Linked DNA regions of Homo sapiens: all the other regions are linked to region 3. The links are contacts of gene promoters, found by promoter capture Hi-C in blood cells and fetal thymus (Javierre and others, 2016). All regions are on one chromosome and are shown on one strand. Each heading gives the region's core, a stretch centred on a gene start or on the middle of the fragment in contact. The rest is flanking DNA. Distances are from core to core; before and after follow the strand shown. Region 1 holds the start of SFMBT1 (Scm like with four mbt domains 1). Region 2 overlaps RFT1 (RFT1 glycolipid translocator homolog). Region 3 holds the start of ITIH1 (inter-alpha-trypsin inhibitor heavy chain 1).

Region 1 (3,822 bases), core at 782-3,281, 270 kb before region 3:
GACAGGGGGCACTTGGGTGCCCTTTCAGGTCTCAGAGGGAGCGCCCGATCCCCGACGAGGGGCAGGCAAACGGGCGCAGTGCCCGCGGCGGCGGCACGCGCGCATCTGGGATCCGGCCGCTTCTCCGCTCATGCCATCTTGTCCGAGCCAGTCACGTGCGGGCGACAGCGGCGCGCTTCGCCGGGCCGGTACTCCAGGTCCGACCCGCGAACCCCTCTGGGATCCCCGCCGCTCTGTCTACAACCCGAGGTGAGGCGCAGGCTGGATCGGGGCTGGGCCAGGGCGGGCACTGGGTTCCCGGGGACGCGTCTCCTCTTCCGGGCCGTTCCGCTCGGGGCCACAGCGCCGTCGGGGGCCCGAGGCGCCGCCGCGTGTCCTGCGCCACGGCCTCGGGGCCGTCCGCGCCGAGTTGCTGGCTGGGGGCGTGGGTGGCCCGCGGCGCCGGACCCCCGGCACACCAGCCCGCGGAGTCCTTGCCTCCCGCGCGGCCCCAGCCAGGAGGGATGGCGCTGGGGCGGGAGCGGGGCAGCCGGGCCCGGGAGCTCCACGGGCGCGGCGCGAGGGGCGCAGGCTGCCTGGAGGACCGCGGAGCTGGGGGTGGGGGGGCGCGGGCGCATGCGCCCTGCGTCCGTGCCATATTGGAATGAGTCGGAGCGCGGAGCGCCGCCGCCGCCTCCGCCGGAGCGCGGGTGGAGGGGGGCGGGGAGAGCTGCCGGCCGCCCCGCTCCGCCGAACCCAGCAGGAAGGAGGGCGCGAGCGGGCGAGCGCGGGCAGCACGGGAGGAAAAAGCTTCCGCGCGGGGGAGCGAAAAGACGGAAAGAAAGAAAGAAAACGAGCGCGAGAGGGGGAAAAGCGAGCGATCGAGCGAGCGCGCGCGCGAAAACTCCGGGCAGGTAAAAAAGCGGGGCCACCGGCTGGGCCTTCCCGCGCGGCGGCCTGGAGGGGCGGCGGCGGCGCCGGGGCGGGGGACCGTACGGCGTCCCCTTCGAAGCGGCCGCGCAACTTTGCCAACGGGAAACCGCCGGGCGCCGGCGGGCGCGCGGGCTGAGGCGCCAACGGGCGGCGGCGGCGGCACGTTGGGGGCGGGGGCGGGGCGGGGGGAGCGCGGCGCCCGCGCGCGGCCCCGCGGTCCCGCGCGCCGGCCGGCCGGCTGCAGGGGCGCGCCTGGGCGCCTCGCCGCGGCGGAGAGCGGCGGCGGCCGTCAGCCCCTGGCAGGCAGCGCGGCGCGCGTCAGCCCGCGGGAGGCGTGAAAGGAAAGTGGCCGGGCGGCGGCAGTGGCGGGCGCCCAAGTTCCCCGGCGCGCCGGGCCCGCCGCGCGCCCCTCCCCGCGCGCGCCCCGCGCTCCGCCCGCCGAGCCCCCGCGGACCCGCCCCCCGGGCTCGCTCCGGGCGGGGCGCGAACCCGCAGCTGGGGCCGGGCGCGCGGCCGGTCGGAACTTCGGAGGGCCCGGGCGGTCGCTGCGCGGTGGCGGAGCGTCTAGTGGCCGCCGCAACCGGTGGCTCCGGGCCGCCGTTGTGAAGTGAGCGGGCCTCTCCCGCGCCGCGGCCCGCCGGGCACCGCCGCTGGACCCCGCGCCGACCCGGCAGCGCCCCGACCTGCCGCTCGGGAGGTCCGCGACCGTTTCGATTTCTGTTCCTAAAGTCCGATTTTGGACGCTGAAAAGGAGGCTGTGGAGGGGCGAGCGGCGTCCTGGGAAGCAAGGCCTGCTCTGTGCGGAGCAGAAACGCCTTGTGCGAACAGAAATAAATTCCCGCGGAAAGGATGTACGTTATGCTAAGTTTTTCACAAGATGTCAGCTGTTCCCGTAGGGTCTAAAACTAAGCCGGCAGGCACAGGTCACCCCCAGAGCTTGTGCTCAAGGAGTGGTGGACGCTTGGGTCAGGTGGGGGTGTTCCCAGCGGGTCGCCCGAAGCAGCACTGGTTGATGGTCCCAAGTGGTGTTTTTGAGTCCTGTTAGCAGTGATCTGTGTTTGAGAACCAAGTAACCATCAAAGAGATTCGAAAGGAAGTAAGATGGATTTTGTCAATCCCTGCGTATGTCTTCTCTTGAACCACATTTTCTAAGATGTCATTCTTAATTTTATTGCATCTGGGTAAAATGCCTGAACGTGTAATCATTAATTTGTCAACTGGCGAGAGGATGAAGGAAGATGTGTCTTCATGTGTACACTTTGAGGCCTGTTGACTAGCGTTTTGAGGCATTTGTTGAATTAGGCCGTAGGTAGATTCGGAGTTAAGATTTGTTTGCGATGTCAGAAAAGTTACGGCCTGGTAGAAACGGCCAGAGATCAGGAAACAGTTCTGTTATTACCGTTGTCATTGACTAACTGCCTTATCTTGGGCACATTTCTTACCCATTGTAGCTTTGATTTTCCTTATTTGCAACATTAAGATAAACAGATGATGTTTGGGGGTGCTTTCAGTTCGAAAATTCGGTGGCTTTCTTAACTGAAAGATTCTTAGAAATCACAGTGTATATTTTGAGAGGTACTACATAAAAGTGCTCGCAATGTGTGTCTTTATTAAAATTCATTTGGAAAAAACATCTTGGTAGCTAGATCCAGAATGGTTTTATATGATTATTTGAATAGATTTTTAACAATGTATTTTTATGGAGGTATGTATAACCTACCGAAAGATCTTAAGGGTACAATTCAATGACTTTTTATATATGTATATGCCCTGATAACCACACTCAGATCAAGATATGGAACATTTTCAGGCCTTGTATCCTTTCCATTCAGTAAACACATTCCCCCTCCCCAAGGCAACCACAATTCTGACTTCTGTCACCACAGATGAGTTTTGCCTCAAAACAGGACCCTTTTGAGGGTTAAAGGGGCAATACTAACAAACTGAGGATAGCTTGTATGTAAACTTGGAGTTATGGCCGTGTTGGCCATGACCCTTTGCTTTTATAATGATTCTTAGGGTTTTTGTAATCCAGAATAACTTAAAATTCTGTCCTGAGGAACTTCTTAGAAGGTCACTTTTCAGTGGGGGCAATACTTTGCAGGTTACGATTGGTAGTTCTTGGGAGTCCTTATGTTCACAGACAATGGTATTAATCTATGACTTCCCATTTTTAGAATATAGGTACTATATATTTGTAGACAACAGATTTGAAGAATGAATCATGAATTTTCCTAACAAGTTAGAGTTTAAGGTGTCAGTAGATGAATCAGTTTCTTAATGCCTAGAATTTGCTGAGAAAATTGAATGAAAATTGGTTTCTTAAAGTTAAGTGAATTAAGAATGTGTGCGTAAAGCTTTAACAACCTTTTCAATGACAGCAGTTGACTTATATATACAGGATAGTCAGCTGGTTTATCAAATCATTTAAAGTGCAACAATGAAAGCAAAAACAAAAGGTTAACTAAAAATTATGTCAGGTGTGATTAAAAAAATCAGCATGACTAAGATACCTTTTTTTTTTTATTAACCCTCTTTCTAGGAAGGTGGACTTTTAAATATTCTCCACTGAAGCAAATGCTGCAACAATTTGCATTTCCTTCACCAATGTCGTCTTGTGCCTTTTCTTGTTCCTACTGTAAAGGAGATGGGTTAGATGTTGTAAGTGAATTCTTATTTTGTTAGTTCCTAACAAAGGCTTGTGTTTTTTACTGCAAAGATATCTGTGTGATAAAAGTTGGGAATGTTCTAAGGCCTGTGGTGTAGGGATCCATGGGGAATAGTCCACAAAGTTAAAAGGTTTTCTTTTGTGAAATGATTTCGCTGAATAATTCTGTCTTTCCCGTGTTAAGCTAGCCAGCCAACTGACTGACCAGCAACTAAGCTGGATTTGGTCACTCCACCCAAGAT
Region 2 (3,678 bases), core at 803-3,302, 320 kb before region 3:
CCTCTTCTAGTTGCTAATGGTTGCTGGCATCCTGGCGTTCCTTGACTTGCAGCTGCAGTACTGCGGTCACATGGCTGTGTTCTCTCTGTCTTCACGTCATCATCCCCCTTGCGCTCTTCACGTCATCATCTCCCTGCACGTGTCTGCCTCAATGCAAGTTTCCCCCACTTTTTTTTTTTTTTAGTGAGATGAAGTCTCACTCTATCACCCAGGCTGGAGTACAGTGGTGTGATCTCGGCTCACTGCAGCCTCCACCTCCCGGGTTCAAGAGACTCCCGCCTCAGCCTCCCGAGTAGCTGAGATTACAGGCACACCCTACCACACCCGACTAAGTTTTTGTATATTTAGTAGAGACGGGGTTTCGCCATGTTGGCCAGGCTGGTCTCAAACTCCTGACCTCAGATGATCTGCCCCCCTTCAGCCTCCCAAAGTGCTGAGATTACAAGCATGAGCCACTGCACCTGACCAAGTTTCCCCTTTTTATAAGGACACCTGTCATATAGGATCAGGGCCTGCCCTAATGACCTCATTTTAACTCAGTTTTCTTCATGAACACCCTGTTTCCAAATAAGGACAGATTCTCAGGTACCACTGGTCAGGACATTAACATATCTATTTTGGGGGGACAGTTCAACTTAAAACACCCCTCAATTCAGTCTACAATCGAAGGTTGGTTCCATTCTTGAATTCCCCAAATGGACACAAAACCCTTTACGTGAGTCACTGATTGGTGCCAGAGTTTGTGTTCTCCATGCCTCACGACAGCCCACTGTTCACCTACTGATGGGCCCTCCTGTGCCATTAGCGTTCAGTTACCACGTAAGGAGGCCCCCCACTCTTCTCTGCTTCTGCCAGGGAGAGGAGGTTGGGGAGAAGCAGGAGGCACACTTGAGCATAGCCTTGAGCCTCCCGGGTGCAGAGCCTGGTCCCCGCCTCCCTTCCTGGAGTCACCGTCAGCTGGGGTGGGGGCCAGGCTACTTCCTGCAGCGGCTTGACAAGCAAAATGCAATGTGAGGTGATAAACATGGAATCTGAGACAGGGCCGTGGAAAACGGTTTTTTGTTGAGCGTCGGGGCTGCCCTGTTAGTATTCCTTTTATAATTTTGTGACTGCCATAAAACTGTTTAGGGGTCCCACAGCATGGAGATCTTTTGTATTAAACAGCTTTCATAAACCCTGAATGAGTTCCAGATTCTGAGACTCCGGAACTTCAGTCCCCCTCCTTTTCTTTCAGTGGTTATGTGTTTTTTTTGGGAGTTTTTTTTCTCCCTTTGTTGAGGTATAATTTACATAAAGTAAAATGCTGTTCTCTTAAGAGTACAGTTTGGTAAGTTTTGACAAATATGTACAAAAAATCCCATGTAACTACCAAACAGATTCAGACATAGAATATCTCCATTTCCCCAGAAAGTTCTTTTGGGACCCTTTCTAGTCAACTACCCCACTCCACCTCAGAGACAAAGAGAAATCAGAAGAAATCTGATTTCTATCACCATGGATCAGTATTTCTTTTAAAAGTAATTTTATATCAATGAAATGCAGCATGTGCGCTCTTGCATTTGGCATATTTCCTTCAATATAAAGTTTTTGAGATTCTTCCATGGTTTCGCATGGATCAGTGATTTTTATTATCTTTTCTTGCTAAGTATTCCTTTGTGTGGATGGCCCACGTTTTGTTTATTCTTTCTTCTGTTGATGGTCAGTTTTGGCTATTATGAATCAAACTGCTACAGATGCTTTTGTGTAAGTGTTTTTGTGAACATGTGTGTTCATTTCTGTTGGATATATACCTAGGGGTGCAATTGCTGGGTCGTAGGTTAGGTGTTTGTTTATTTTATTAGGTGCTTGATTATGGCCCTCTTAAAAGGGGGGAATCAATCCCATTTGTAAGCCTCCTGTTCTCTGCTTAGAAGATTTTTCCGAAGCTTGTTAGCTATAGAACTGCATTACTTTGTTTTAGAAGAAAATACTATTATGGGCACTGGTTCTCACTTTGGATTTGTGTAATTTTCTGCTGGTCCTGGGCCCCTGGCTTTTGTTAAAGGTCTTTTCTTCAGGACCTGCTCAACTGAGATTCCCTTAACATGCAGGGTCACTACTGACTTTGAGTCCAAACCAGCAGGCCTATTCATGCTGATGAAAAAAGGGAACAGACTTGCTTGCTAGCCAGATAAGCTTTTAGTTGTCCAGCAAGAGATCTGTACATTTATTCATAATTGTTCTTTTTTGTGTGTGTGATAAGGTCTTGTTCTGTCACCCAGGCTGGAGTGCAGTGGCACTATCATGGCTCACTGCAGCTCTGACCTCCCCAGACTCAGGTGATCCTCCCACCTCAACCTCCCGAGTAGCTGGGACTACAGGCATGCCCACCACACACAGCTAACTTTTGTATTTTTGGTAGACACGGGGTTTCATCATGTTGCCCAGGCTGGTCTCTAACCTCTGGGCTCTAGCAGTCTGCTGGCCTTGGGCCTCCCAAAGTGCTAGGATTACAGGTGTGAGCCACCGTGCCCAGCCTGTCATTTTGTTTTTTGCTGATTATTTAGTCAATGCCATAGAATGTTGGGAATCCTTCTAGATTATTAAGACCCTGGGCTCTAGCATGCAGTCTGCCCATTGCTGATACCAGCAGACCTCATAGTCTGGTTCTGGTTCTCTGGGTACTCAGCAGCACTGAGGGTACATGTGGGCCTTCTGATTGGGCTCTGGAGTCTCAGTGAGTTGTTTCCTTGTAGGTCCTGTTTTGCTGCGTTCCTACTGTCTCTATGTTCTCCTGCTTGCCATCAATGGAGTGACAGAGTGTTTCACATTTGCTGCCATGAGCAAAGAGGAGGTCGACAGGTGGGTAACCTAGCAGGTACACCTTTAATCATGGCCTTCAGCCAAAATGAAATAACTTGTCAAGCTTTTTGCTTTTCGTTCTGAACATGCATTTACAGATGGCTGTTTTAGAGGCAACACTTAGTCCACCAGTGTGGTGCTCCCCTGGGATCTCTGTGGCACCAGCATGGTTCAGCAAGTGCTCCCCACTGTAGGGCTGGGAGGCAGCAACTACTCTTTGCCTCCCCTTTGTGGAGGAAGAAACATCGGCTCTGAAAGGTTACATTAGTCCAGGTTTGCAGAGTCAGGCACCAGACAAGCTAGATTTCCATTCCTCCACCTCCTTGCTCACCCCAGAAGAGTGGTCCTCCAGTAAGTTACTGAGGAGCTTCTTCAAGATGCACATTCCTACCCCTGAGAACCTGATTGGTGGGTCTTTGAGAATCTCAGGGATTCTGTGACACTTCTCCTGAGAAAAGCCCAAGTGCACACATACATCTCATCTTGCCATAATTTTTTCTCAACTCTTGACTCCAGATCAGGATTCCTGTCCTGGAATCCCCTACCAGTGGTTCTTTTTTTTTTTTTTTTTTTTTTTTTGAGATGGAGTCTCGCTCTGTCGCCCAGGCTTGAGTGCAGTGGCGCAGTCTCTGCTCACTGCAAGCTCTGCCTCCCAGGTTCACGCCATTCTCCTGCCTCAGCCTCCCAGGTAGCTGGGACTACAGGCGCGTGCCACCATGCCTGGCTAATTTTTTGTATTTTTAGTAGAGATGGGGTTTCACCGTGTCAGCCAGGTTGGTCTCGATCTCCTGACCTTGTGATTCTCCCGCCTTGGCCTCCCAAAGTGCCGGGATTACA
Region 3 (3,749 bases), core at 23-2,522:
ATGTGAGCCCTTGGATAAGGACGTCTCCTGACGAGCCTTCCACTGCCCATGGTGGAACTCAGGGGTCCATGGGCAATGAGGTGAGCAGCCCAGGTCAGAGGCCAGCAAGAAGCCTCAGACTCTGGCCTTGGCTCCTTGGGTTCTAGCCTGAAACATGCTGTGATGGGTCCCAGTTTGCCTCCAAGATGGGAGCCAAGCACAGACCTAAAGGGCTTCTTCCTCCCCTCAAAGCCAGGGCTGGTCTGTGGCCCTTCTAGAATGAGGAGATGCTCTGCGTTATCTGGCCACTCCGATCCTTGTTCTTAAGCTGGGACTAGTAAGCGGCACCCCTGGGAGAAGGCATGGGAGTTGGGCAGGCACGCACACGGCAAAGTCACTGATGAATGCTGTCTTGGGGATTTCCAGGTCGAAGGCCACTTCCCTGGCTTCATTGGCAGTGTTGACCACTTGGCTGGTGACAACATAGTGGGCGAAGCGAGAGGTGACTTTGCAGTTGACTTTCAAACTCCGGATGAACACGCCATCGACAGCCTAAAGTGAGACATGAAGGAGCTGTGGCCTGAGACAGGGCCTCTGTCAGCGAGGGACTTCCTGTGGTACGGGGACTTGGCACTTAGCCCCAGTGCATGGTGCCCAGATGCAGGAAGAACAGACCGCAGGAAGACCCCTGCTCTCTGGCTGAGACCGTGCTGTGGGATATGAGGTGAGATGGGAACAAGTCCCCATTTCTAGGACCCTGGAGAGTACCCCATGCCTATGGCCCTGATAGAGGGGTCCACCCCTGACAGGTTGGGGAAAGCAAGCCTGTAAAAAGGGCTCTGTCACAGACCCCTTTGCCAGGACTCTTACTCACGGTGTCCACAGCCTGTCGCTTCTGCAAAACAAAATCAGGGTCAAGTGTGAGAGGAAAACTCAGGGGACCACCGGCCTGCCAGTTCAGGGATGGGAGTGGAACACAGCCTGTGTCCTCTGCCCCTTAGCTTCACCTCCTTGGTGGTGCTGGGAGGTCACCTCTCCACTCAGAAGTGGTGGAGGTGGTGGGGGTGACCCTGGCCCCTTGAATGGGGGTCTTGTGTCCCGCCCGGGGCCTCATCCAGGTTCAGCTGCCTATTTCTGCCCTGTGGGCTTAGCCATATACCTCGCTGCTCTTGGACCTGCCTGTAGCCGAGCCCAGGGCAGGCATGGCCTGCAGGATGAGGAGAGATACCAGGTACATGCACAACAGCAGCCCCCGAGGCCCCATGGCACCGTCCATGCTCTAAGGCTCCTGCTGCCCTGTCACCTCAGTCAGACCAGTAATCAATACAGTGCTGGATAAACATGGATTAAACATTAGACAAGGTGCAGGCAAATATTAATGACAAAAACCGCAATGACTTTTGCATCAACCTAACACATTTAGAGGAATCAAAATTTGGCAGTGGAAGCTTTTTGCCTCAGGGGGGTTCCCAGCTCTGGGTGGTTAAACTACTGATGGGGCTCCAGACCATGTCCCTCTGTGTAGAACTGCGCTTAGCCTATGTGAACTGTGAGGATCCCCGGATGGCTCATCTCATCCTCGGGCTGGCACAAGGCAGCACCAGTGACACGGTGACATGTGGCAAGAAGCAACAGTTAAAAATGGATTTCTAAACTTCATTAGGCTTTACTTTTTTTTTTTTGAGATGGAGTTTTGGTCTTGAGTGCTAGAGTGCAGTGGCAGGATCTTGGCTCAGTGCAACCTCCACCTCCTGGGTTCAAGTGATTCTCCTGCCTCAGCCTCCCGAGTAGCTGGGATTACAGGTGCACACCACCATGCCCAGCTAATTTTTGTATTTTTAGTAAAGACGGCTTCACCACATTGGCCACGCTGGTCTCGAACTCCTGACCTCAGGTGATCTGCCCGCCTCAGCCTCCCAAAGTGCTGGGATTACAGGAGTGAGCCACTGGGCCCGGCCAGGCTTTACTTTCAAATTTCTTTTTTTTTTTTTTTTTTAAGACAGGGTCTCCCTCTATCGCACAGGTGGAATACAGTGGTGCGATCTTGGCTCACTGCAGCCTCGACCTCCCAGACTCAACTGATCTTCCCACCTCAGCCTTCTGAGTACCTGGAACCACAGGAATGTGGCACCACACCCAGCTGATTATTTTTATTTTTTGTTGAAACAGGGTTTCAGTCGGGCGAGGTGGCTCATGCCTGTAATCTCAGCACTTTGGGAGGCTGAGGGAGGCAGATCACTTGAGGCCAGAAGTTCCAGCCCAGCCTGGGCAACATGGTGAAACCCCATCTCTACCAAAAATACAAAAATTAGCCAGGTATGGTGGCATGCGTCTGTGGTTCCAGCTACTCAGGAGGCTGAGGCAGGAGAATAGCTTGAGCCTGGAAAGTGGTGGTTGCAGAGAGGCAAGATTGTGCCACTGCACTCCAGCCTGGGTGACGGAGCGAGACTGTCTCCAAAAAGAAAGAAAGAAAAGAAAAGAAAGAGAGACAGAGAAAGAAAGAACAGAAAAGAAAAAAGAAAAGAAAAGAAAAGAAAAAAGAAAAGAAAGGGAGGGAAACAGGGTCTCACTTTGTTGCCCAGACTGTTTCAAAATTCTTTCAGCATCAACACACTTTTCAGTCATGCTTTGGCCAGGGAGGCAGACACGGTGGCTTAGAAAGTGTGTGACATCCAGCCATGCTGGTGATTCTCACAGTGCTAACCTGGTATTAGCTCTGTCAGAGACAGTCTGGACGGTCGGGGTGAGGCATGATGGGAGATCTGCGCTTTAGGCCAGTTGCTTCACCTCTCTGAGGTTCTTACCCAGTTCTAGAAAGAACAGAAGTGAGCTTCCTCGTTCCTGCACCTGGGCAGGGAGGCCTGGCAGATAAAGGGGAGCTGAAGATGAATGACATGTTTTCATAATCGAGGACTCATTTGTGTCATGCATTCCTCTAAACCCTTTATTGTCTAATTTTATCCTCGCAACGTTCCTGGGACACTGGCCCCATACCAAGAGACAGAACAGGGATTCAAACCAGGTCTCTCAGGCTCTAAAGCCCAAGGCCATCATGTAATGACAGAGAAGCAGACTTGAAGATCCTAGAGACAGGAGTTCCCAGAGACCCATCTTGCACCTGCAGTTTCTTATTTTTTTATTGCCAAACCCACCCTGTTCCCCAAAAACCACAGCATACTGGGCAGACAGGGCCCCTGGCCAGTCTAGTCTGTGACCTGGGTTGGGATGTGCTGGCTGCTGTGACCCTGATAAGAGGAGGGGGCCCAGAGCCCTCACTGATCTCTGTTTGCTTGTCCTGGACTTTGTCTCACAGAGCAGCTTCTGGGAAGAGTTTATTGTCCTTAGGCCACGGTCACCTTCTGGCCTGTCTTCTGGCCTTTGTAGAAGAGAAGCTGGATCGACATGACAGTGTACATTTGAAGTTCTGCTTATTTCCTGCACCAGTATCGACCAAGCCCTGCAGTGTGTTGGGCACAATGCCAGGCACTGAGAGGCCACCATACAGAAACCTGAGTGCCCTGCTGTGTTCAGTGAGCTGATGTCAGGGGAAAAGGGAATCAGACAAGTCAAAGGGAGCCCACTGAATCCCAAGGAGTGATGAGAAGCTGAAGAGATAGAAATTTGGAGGGGCAGAGGCTCATCTCCTGCAGGGATTAGGAGAAGGTTCCTGGATGAGGTGCCTGGAAAAAAGAGCAGTGCTTGGGAAGGGGAAGGCGGGAAGGGAGGGAGAGAAAAGCAGACGGGCAGGTGGGATGTATGCTGTGGGAAGG

Evidence for each region. Contacts are between HindIII fragments. The CHiCAGO score rates a contact against its expected background, and 5 or more counts as called.
Region 1: a contact is called between a fragment that was not itself captured here and the fragment with the promoter of ITIH1 in region 3, in 1 of 17 cell types (M0 macrophages). The highest score is 5.0, in M0 macrophages.
Region 2: a contact is called between a fragment that was not itself captured here and the fragment with the promoter of ITIH1 in region 3, in 7 of 17 cell types (erythroblasts, M1 macrophages, M2 macrophages and 4 more). The highest score is 8.1, in erythroblasts.

The regions. Positions count from the first base shown.
Region 1 is chr3:53,042,887-53,046,708 of GRCh38, reverse strand. SFMBT1 (Scm like with four mbt domains 1) reads left to right here and starts at 636. Exons shown (of 21, transcript NM_016329.4): 1 at 636-893. RefSeq lists an enhancer at 1-320 and silencers at 308-417, 468-787, 888-947, 1,308-1,597. The HindIII fragment of the contact is 2,480 bases long and covers 792-3,271 here.
Region 2 is chr3:53,098,544-53,102,221 of GRCh38, reverse strand. RFT1 (RFT1 glycolipid translocator homolog) reads left to right here. Exons shown (of 13, transcript NM_052859.4): 11 at 2,736-2,841. Among named protein-coding and RNA genes, the nearest start is that of RFT1, 30 kb to the left of the region's middle. The HindIII fragment of the contact is 250 bases long and covers 1,928-2,177 here.
Region 3 is chr3:52,775,122-52,778,870 of GRCh38, reverse strand. ITIH1 (inter-alpha-trypsin inhibitor heavy chain 1) reads right to left here and starts at 1,272. Exons shown (of 22, transcript NM_002215.4): 1 at 1,139-1,272; 2 at 854-874; 3 at 365-531. The coding sequence starts at 1,255. RefSeq lists an enhancer at 1-639. The HindIII fragment of the contact is 3,325 bases long and covers 1-1,429 here.